2 separate regions of the Homo sapiens genome follow, and region 2 is linked to region 1. The links are contacts of gene promoters, found by promoter capture Hi-C in blood cells and fetal thymus (Javierre and others, 2016). All regions are on one chromosome and are shown on one strand. The core of a region is centred on a gene start or on the middle of the fragment in contact, and the rest is flanking DNA. Distances in the headings are between cores, read along the strand shown.

Region 1 (3,609 bases), core at 175-2,674:
AGTAGGTCTGAGTAGGGCCTGAGAATTTGCATATCTAACGAGTCCCCAGGAAGGGCTACACTTGGAGATCTACCGCTCTAAGGGATTCCAGAGCCGGCCCTGGAGATGGAACTCAGGTTTGGGGAAGAGCCCTGGGTAGGAGGGGCTTTCTCTGTCCTGGGTTGGGGGAGTAGTTAATTGACCCATTGGATGGTCCACACTCTATGCCCCCATCAGCCCCTGCATCCCAGAACAGCCCACTCACCTTATCACAACTGATGTCAAAGGAGCCCCTGGCCTGGTTGAGGGTCACTGTCCCCATACACCGCTTCACCAGCTGGAAAGGAGAAGCTCAAGGTCAAACTTGAAACCATTTGCCATGACCTCCCAGCCACATCCCAGTGGGAAATATTCCCCAGGTGCCCCCTGTTCAGCTCCTTGGGAGGCACCCACCAACACCCCCAGCCCCCAGCCTCACCCCGTCCTTCTTGAAGTCACAATCCTCTGGTGACTGCTGTGTCGTCCTGGGGCACACTGTCTCCTTCACTGTGAAGCTCACAGGCTTTGGCGTGTCTGGGTCCCCATCCTAGTCAGAGGAGGAAATGGGGAGGCCCATTCTTGTATTTTCTGATTTGTGTCCATGACCTCCCCACCAAGAGGGCAGGCTTTCCACAGTACCTGATGTGCGACGGGCACTGGGTGCTGGGCTTGGCACTGGGGCATTGAGGGGAGGAGGACTGAGCCATTCCTACCCTCCTAGGTGAACAGTGAGTAGGAGCAGACCTCAGATGAGCTCTAACAAGGAGCCCCTCCCACTCTGGGGTGGGGGCAAGGGAAGTCAGGGGGCTTCCTGGGGGACAAGACATGCCCACTGGAACCTAAAGTCTGGATAGAGTTCTTCCCTATGTGGGGTAACGTGGTACAGAAGAGACTTAAAGCAGAGGAGGTCACTGCCCAGAGCCAATGACCCCATTCTAGTGCCTGGAGCTCGCAGAAGTCCCAAAACCTGCGTGGGGTCGGGGTGAGGGTATCTCTGCCACAGCAGGAATTATAAGGCAGGAAGCTCTCGAGCTGGGAGGAGACACGAGCTCTAGAAGGTTCCCTGGAAAACACGGGACCACATTTAAAGGGGGAGATGCCCTCCTGGCAGGCAGTGCAGCAGGAGCAGAAGGAACAACACGTGGCCAAGCCCAGCCAGAGCAGAGCAGAATGTCCCCCAAAGCTCACCATCGTGGGCCTGGGGTCCAGGTCCAGGAGGCGGTAGAGGTTAGCATCCGAGGACCGCTGGTTGATGCCATCTATAGCACGAAGCACAGCTTCCTTGTAGCTGAGGACCTGGGCAATGATGGCCAGAGGCATCACCAGGCCCAGCAGCAGGAGCACCAGTGACCACCGCCCCAGGGAGTGGCCATCCCTTTGGGTCTTCATGGTCCCCATGTCTGCCTCCCTCTAGCCCACAGGAGCCTCCTTTATGCCCAGCCTGAGCCTGATGCAAAAGCCCAACCAGGAGCCTTCCTGATCCACCCATCCCTGGCTGCCTGCCAGGGTGTGGGCTGGGGTTTGCTTTAGCCCCTGGCTATTGCTTCACAGGACTTGCTGGGCAGTGAGTGAGGCCTTCCTTGTGTGCAAGATGAGGAAGTGGTTTCTTCATCTCTGACAACCTCCCAGACCTGACCGGAGATTGTCATAGCCAGGGGTGCTCAAGAGCGTTAAATCCCTCCAGAGAGGAAGAGAGCCAGGTGCCTATTCTACATCCTTCTACTCCTCAGGAGTCAGTATGATGGACTGCTAAATCTCCAGCTCTAGGCATTGCCTGGCACCCTGTAGGCATCGATTAAGAATTGATGAATGAGGCAGGGCACGGTGGCTCACGCCTATAATCCCAGCACTTTGGGAGGCCAAGGTGGGCGGATCACCTGAGATAAGGAGTTCGAGACAAGCTTGGCCAACATGGTGAAACCCCATCTCTACTAAAAATATGAAAATTAGCCACGCATGATGGCTCACACCTGTAGTCCCAGCTACAAGCTGAGGCATGAGAATCACTTGAACCCATTGAACCCGGGAAGCAGAAGTTGCAGTTAGCTGAGATCATGCCACTGCACTCCAGCCTGGGTAACAGAGTGAGACTCAGTATGAAAAAAAAAAAAAAGAACTGGTAAATGAAGACAGTAGCCACCCCCAACCTAGAGACTCACTCTTGCAAGGGACAAGTTGCCCTTTCAGTTCAAGGCCATACCACATGCTCTCTGGACCCAGCCGTCAGCCAGACGAAGGCTCTGCTCCATCTATCCCCTTCTGCATCCTTCTTCACTGTTTTTTTCAGTCTCAAAATGTTCCCAAGCCCCTCCAGACATGGCCTTTCACCATGGCTTCTCCCAAGCCAAGTCTTAGGAAAGGTTGTCTACGCTTCTTGACCCCATCTTTTCACTCTTCTTCATGCTGAAGGCCACTGAAGGCTGGCCAACCCACCCTTGGTCCATGGCCACCCTCAAGCCTGGTCTTTGTCTGCACAGGCACTGGTGAGCCTTCCTTCTTGCTGCCCCGGTCTCCCCTGATGCCACTCTCCTGCTGTCCCTCCTGCCTCCCTGGTGGCTCCTTCTTGGTCTCCCCTAAGGGCTGTCTTCTTAATATTGAGAGCGTGTGGGGTCACCTCCTGGGCTGCTTCTCTTCCCTGGCCTCGGGTTTCCCTGGGGACGCCCTCTCCCAGGACACCAGTTATAATAGGCAGACACCACCCAGTCTGTATCTCTGAGTTCGAGACTCCCATGAACGTCCCGGTTGTCCCCACTGGGCCTCCTTGACTGCTCTTCTGCTGAGTGCCCACTGCATGAGCCCTGAAGCACCTTTGGCTCCTTCCTCCCGAAAGCACTCCCCTCTGGCCTCTCCTTCCACCCCTGCCTGGCTCCTGCCGCCATCTTCTCTCCCATGCAATGCTGCCCCAGCCTCCAGACTCCACCTTCTCTAGGTTTCAGGCTCTCCCCAGACCACAGTCCACCCTCCACACCGTTGTCCAGGGGTTCCTTTAAACCACCAATTTGGCCATTTCAACCCTCTACCTTCAGGAGCCCACACACCCCCTAGGCTGGCATCAGGGCCTGTGGCCTTTTGGTTCCCACTGCCCTCACCCCAGCCCTGCACACTGCAAGTGCCAGACTGTCACGTATGCCCCCATCACATAGGCTCATCTGAGCCTCCTGCTCTTTCTCCCAGCTCTGCCCCGATCCTTCTGTTTGGCCTGCCCTTTCACCTCATGAAGCTTTCCCTGACCTCCAACCAGGCACAGCAATCTCCTCTTTGCCCCTACATCTTCCAGGAAGTCTCTCCTGATTCGACCTCAAATTACTCCCTGTTTGGTGCTCTAGCTGAGACACCAAGCTGGGATGGGTGGCTGGTGTTGGGAGAGGGAGAGATCACAGCCAGGAGAGATAAAGGGCCAAAGTGATAGAGGGGTCCAGCGTCCATGAGGCAAATTCCGGTCCCAGCTCCTCTGTGGACTGGCCATGTGGCCCTGAGGCCTGGGGTACCTCTTGACCTCAGTTGGCCTGTGGGACACTTGGGGGCTTGGACAGCAGGGCTCCTGGAAGGTGGAAGCCTGGACGAAGGCCACCGGTTGCACACCTGGCCTTG
Region 2 (3,700 bases), core at 476-2,975, 400 kb before region 1:
CAAGTGATTCTCCCACCTCAGCCTCCTGAATAGCTGGGATTACAGGCACCCACCATCATGTCCAGCTAATTTTTGTATTTTTGTAGAGACGAAGTTTCACCATATTGGCCAGGCTGGTTTTGAACTCCTGACCTCAAGTGATCCTCCTGCCTTGGCCTCCCAAAGTGTTGGGATTACAGGGGTGAGCCACCGCACCCAGCCCCAGCTAGTTTTTGTTTGTTTGTATTTTGAGATGGAGTCTCGCTCTGTCGCCCAGGCCAGAGTGCAGTGACATGATCTCAACTCACTGCAAACTCTGCCTCCCGGGTTTAAGTGATTCTCCTGCCTCAGCTTCCCAAGTAGCTGGGACTACAGGGGTGTGCCAGCACGCCCAGCTAATTTTTTTTTTTTTTTGTATTTTTAGTAGAGACGGGGTTTCACCATGTTAGCCAGGATGGTCTCAATTTCCTGATGTCGTGATCCACCCACCTCAGCTTCCTGAAGTGCTGGGATTACAAGTGTGAGCCACCACAGCCGGCCTTTTTCTTTTTTTTGAGATGGAGTTTTGCTGTTGTTGCCCAGGCTGGAATGCAATGGCGCGATCTCGGCTCACCACAACCTCCACCTTCCAGGTTCAAGTGATTCCCCTGCCTCGGCCTGCTGAGTAGCTGGGATTACAGGCATGAACCACCACGCCTGGCTATTTTAGTAGAGGCAGGTCTCCATGTTGGTCAGGCTGGTCTCGAGCCCCCGACCTCGGGTGATCCATCTGCCTTGGCCTCCCAAAGTGCTGGGATTACAGGCCTGAGCCATGGTGCCCAGCCTAGTTAAAAAAAAAAAAAAAGTTTGTAAGGTCGGGTGCGGTGGCTCACGCCTGTAATCCCAGCACTTTGGGAGGCCGAGGCAGGTGGATCACGAGGTCAGAAGATTGAGACCATCCTGGCTAACACGGTGAAACCCCGTCTCTACTAAAAATACAAAAAATTAGCCGGGCGAGGTGGCGGGCGCCTGTAGTCCCAGCTACTCAGGAGGCTGAGGCAGGAGAATGGCGTGAACCCGGGAGGCAGAGCTTGCGGTGAGCGGAGATCGTGCCACTGCACTCCAGCCTGGGCGACAGAGCAAGACTCTGTCTCAAAAAAAAAAAAAGAATTTCTGTTAGTTACTGGTTTCTTTAACTGTTTGGGACTTAGTTTCTTTTTTTATCTTTTTTGAGAAAAAATCTCACTCTGTTGCCCAGGCTGGAGTGCAGTGGTGCAATCACAGCTCATTGCAGTCTTGACCTCCCAGGCTTAGGTGATCCTCCCACTTCAGCCTCCTGGGTAGCTGGGACAACAGGCATGTGCCACTATACCCAGCTAATTATTTGTATTTTTTATGGAGATGGGGTTTTGCCGTGATGCCCAGGCTGGTCTCAAACTTCTGGGCTCAAGCCATCCACCTGCCTCAACCTCCCAAAGTGCTGGGATTCCAGGTGTGTGCCACTACACCCAGCCTAGGGCCCAGCTTCAAAAGGAGGTGCTCCCTCAGTTTGGGGCCAGCTAGGCCCGCTGGGACAGCAGGACCCAGAACCCAGGTCTGCCGTTGTCCTCAAGCCCTGGACTCCAGCCCCCTGACCACAGCCAGTTTCTGGCCAGGCTGCTCATGAAAGGCCATGGGCCTGGCTGGAACCTGCTGCCTTAGAGCCAGGCCTCTTCCCGGGGGAGGGGCGTTTGCCCGTTGCCAGGTGCCCGGGTTCCGGCCCTGGCACTAGCGACGGCCATGCTGCATGTGCTGGCCTCGCTGCCTTTGCTGCTCCTGCTGGTGACGTCTGCCTCCACCCACGCCTGGTCGAGACCCCTCTGGTACCAGGTGGGGCTGGACTTGCAGCCCTGGGGGTGTCAGCCAAAGAGTGTGGAGGGCTGTAGGGGTGGCCTGAGCTGTCCTGGCTACTGGCTGGGCCCTGGAGCAAGCCGCATCTACCCCGTGGCTGCGGTCATGATCACCACCACGATGCTGATGATCTGCCGCAAGATACTGCAGGGGCGGCGGCGCTCACAGGCCACCAAGGGTGAGGTGAGCACAGCTCTTCTTTCTCCCCCACAGCCCCTGCCTCAATATACGTACGCTCAGTGAGCCCGTCTTCCACCCAACCCTGCCCCATGGGTCCACACTGGCCTGTGGACCTCCCACACCCCCACCCCCAGCTCACAGCCCATTGTCCCTGTGTCCACACACCTTCGTGGAACCCATGTCCACCACCCACAGCCAGCACCCTGCCCCCAACTCTCCCCTTTAGTACCCCTGCTCTCATCCAGCCCCTGTGGGCCCCATGACCACTGTAGCCCACAACAGACCCTCGGTGATCCTCTATCACCCTGAGTCTCCCTCCCATCCCATCTGGGCACTGCCCCACACCCTACTCCCTGCTCCCCAGCTCCATCACTGCCCCTTGTCACATCTCCCTCTCTGCCCACCATTCTCACTCCTGCCTCTTGGTCCTGGTCTCAGCATCCGCAGGTGACCACTGAGCCCTGCGGACCCTGGAAACGGCGGGCCCCAATCTCAGACCACACCCTGCTCCGTGGGGTCCTGCACATGCTGGATGCCCTCCTGGTCCACATCGAAGGCCACCTACGTCATCTAGCCACCCAGCGGCAAATCCAAATAAAGGGGACTTCCACCCAGAGTGGGTGACCGAACATGTGCCTCTCTTTGCCTGACAGCCTGAGGTCCTGGGCCAGGTCTGCTCTTTCCAGGCCTGTCTGGACCGTGTGTCCCTTTTCAGCTTTTAGAGTCAGCTGACTTGGTGTCCAGGACGGGCGGGCAGGTGGGGCATAGGCTGGCTCACACTGCTCCATTGCCCCCACCAACTGACCTTTCCTCCCTAAGGATCCCTCCTGGAGACACAACTGCTCCTCTGGGCTGGGCGTGGTGGCTCACACCCGTAATCCCAGCGCTTTGAGAGGCCGAGGTGGGAGGATCATTTGAGCTCAAGAGTTCGAGACCAGCCTGGGCAACATGGCAACCCCATCCCTACGAAAAATACAAACAAACAAACAAAAATTAGCTGAGCACACACATAGTGGTGTGTGCCTGTAGTACCAACTACTCAGGAAGCTGAGGTGGGAGGATGGCTTGAGCCTGGCAGGCAGTGGTTGCAGTGAGCCAAGATTGTGCCACTGTACTCCAGCCTGGGTGACAGAGCAAGAACTTGTCTCAAAACAAACAAAAACTGCTCCTCTGGCCTGACCAGTACCTGGGGACTCCCTGTGTGATGGGAGAGGACTTACCAACGGGACAGGCTTGGGTGGCTCAGGAAGGGTTGCCCAGAGGAGCCAACAACCTGGCTGAGCCCTGAGGGGAAATGGGTGTGAGGAAGGGAAATCCAGGTGGCGGTCTGGTTCTGAGCAAAAGCCACGTGCTGTGTTTGGTACTCTCTGCACATGGGCAAGGTGGGCAGTGCACATGATAAAGGGCCTCAAGTGCTGAGTGAGGGTACTGGGCCTCTCCAGTGCACAGGGTGAGCTGAGGAGGGACCTGGTCAGCTGAGAAGAGGGGTGGGGGCAGTGGTGAAGCTGGAACCAGATGCTGAGGATCTCTGATGGGGGACTGAGAGCCCCAAGCCCCCATCACTGTGGAGTCGCACACCCTTTGGCTTCACCCATCCTTGTCACCACCTCAGGGAGGTGACTTTAGTCCTGCCATCAAACAGCAGCTGGCTCTGGCTTCCTTCTTCCCAGGC

The links. The method cuts DNA at HindIII sites, captures the fragments that hold promoters and counts their contacts. A CHiCAGO score of 5 or more calls a contact.
Region 2: a contact is called between the fragment with the promoter of TMEM89 here and the fragment with the promoter of CAMP in region 1, in 1 of 17 cell types (endothelial precursors). The highest score is 6.5, in endothelial precursors.

What each region holds. Positions count from the first base shown.
Region 1 is chr3:48,221,310-48,224,918 of GRCh38, reverse strand. It overlaps CAMP (cathelicidin antimicrobial peptide), which reads right to left and starts at 1,424. Exons shown (of 4, transcript NM_004345.5): 1 at 1,207-1,424; 2 at 458-565; 3 at 245-316. The coding sequence starts at 1,407. RefSeq lists a silencer at 1,446-1,740 and enhancers at 1,750-1,799, 1,810-1,939, 1,960-2,079. The HindIII fragment of the contact is 1,963 bases long and covers 1-1,921 here.
Region 2 is chr3:48,619,794-48,623,493 of GRCh38, reverse strand. It overlaps TMEM89 (transmembrane protein 89), which reads left to right and starts at 1,725. Exons shown (of 2, transcript NM_001008269.3): 1 at 1,725-2,031; 2 at 2,467-2,735. The coding sequence starts at 1,738. The coding sequence ends at 2,652. The HindIII fragment of the contact is 13,468 bases long and covers 1-3,700 here.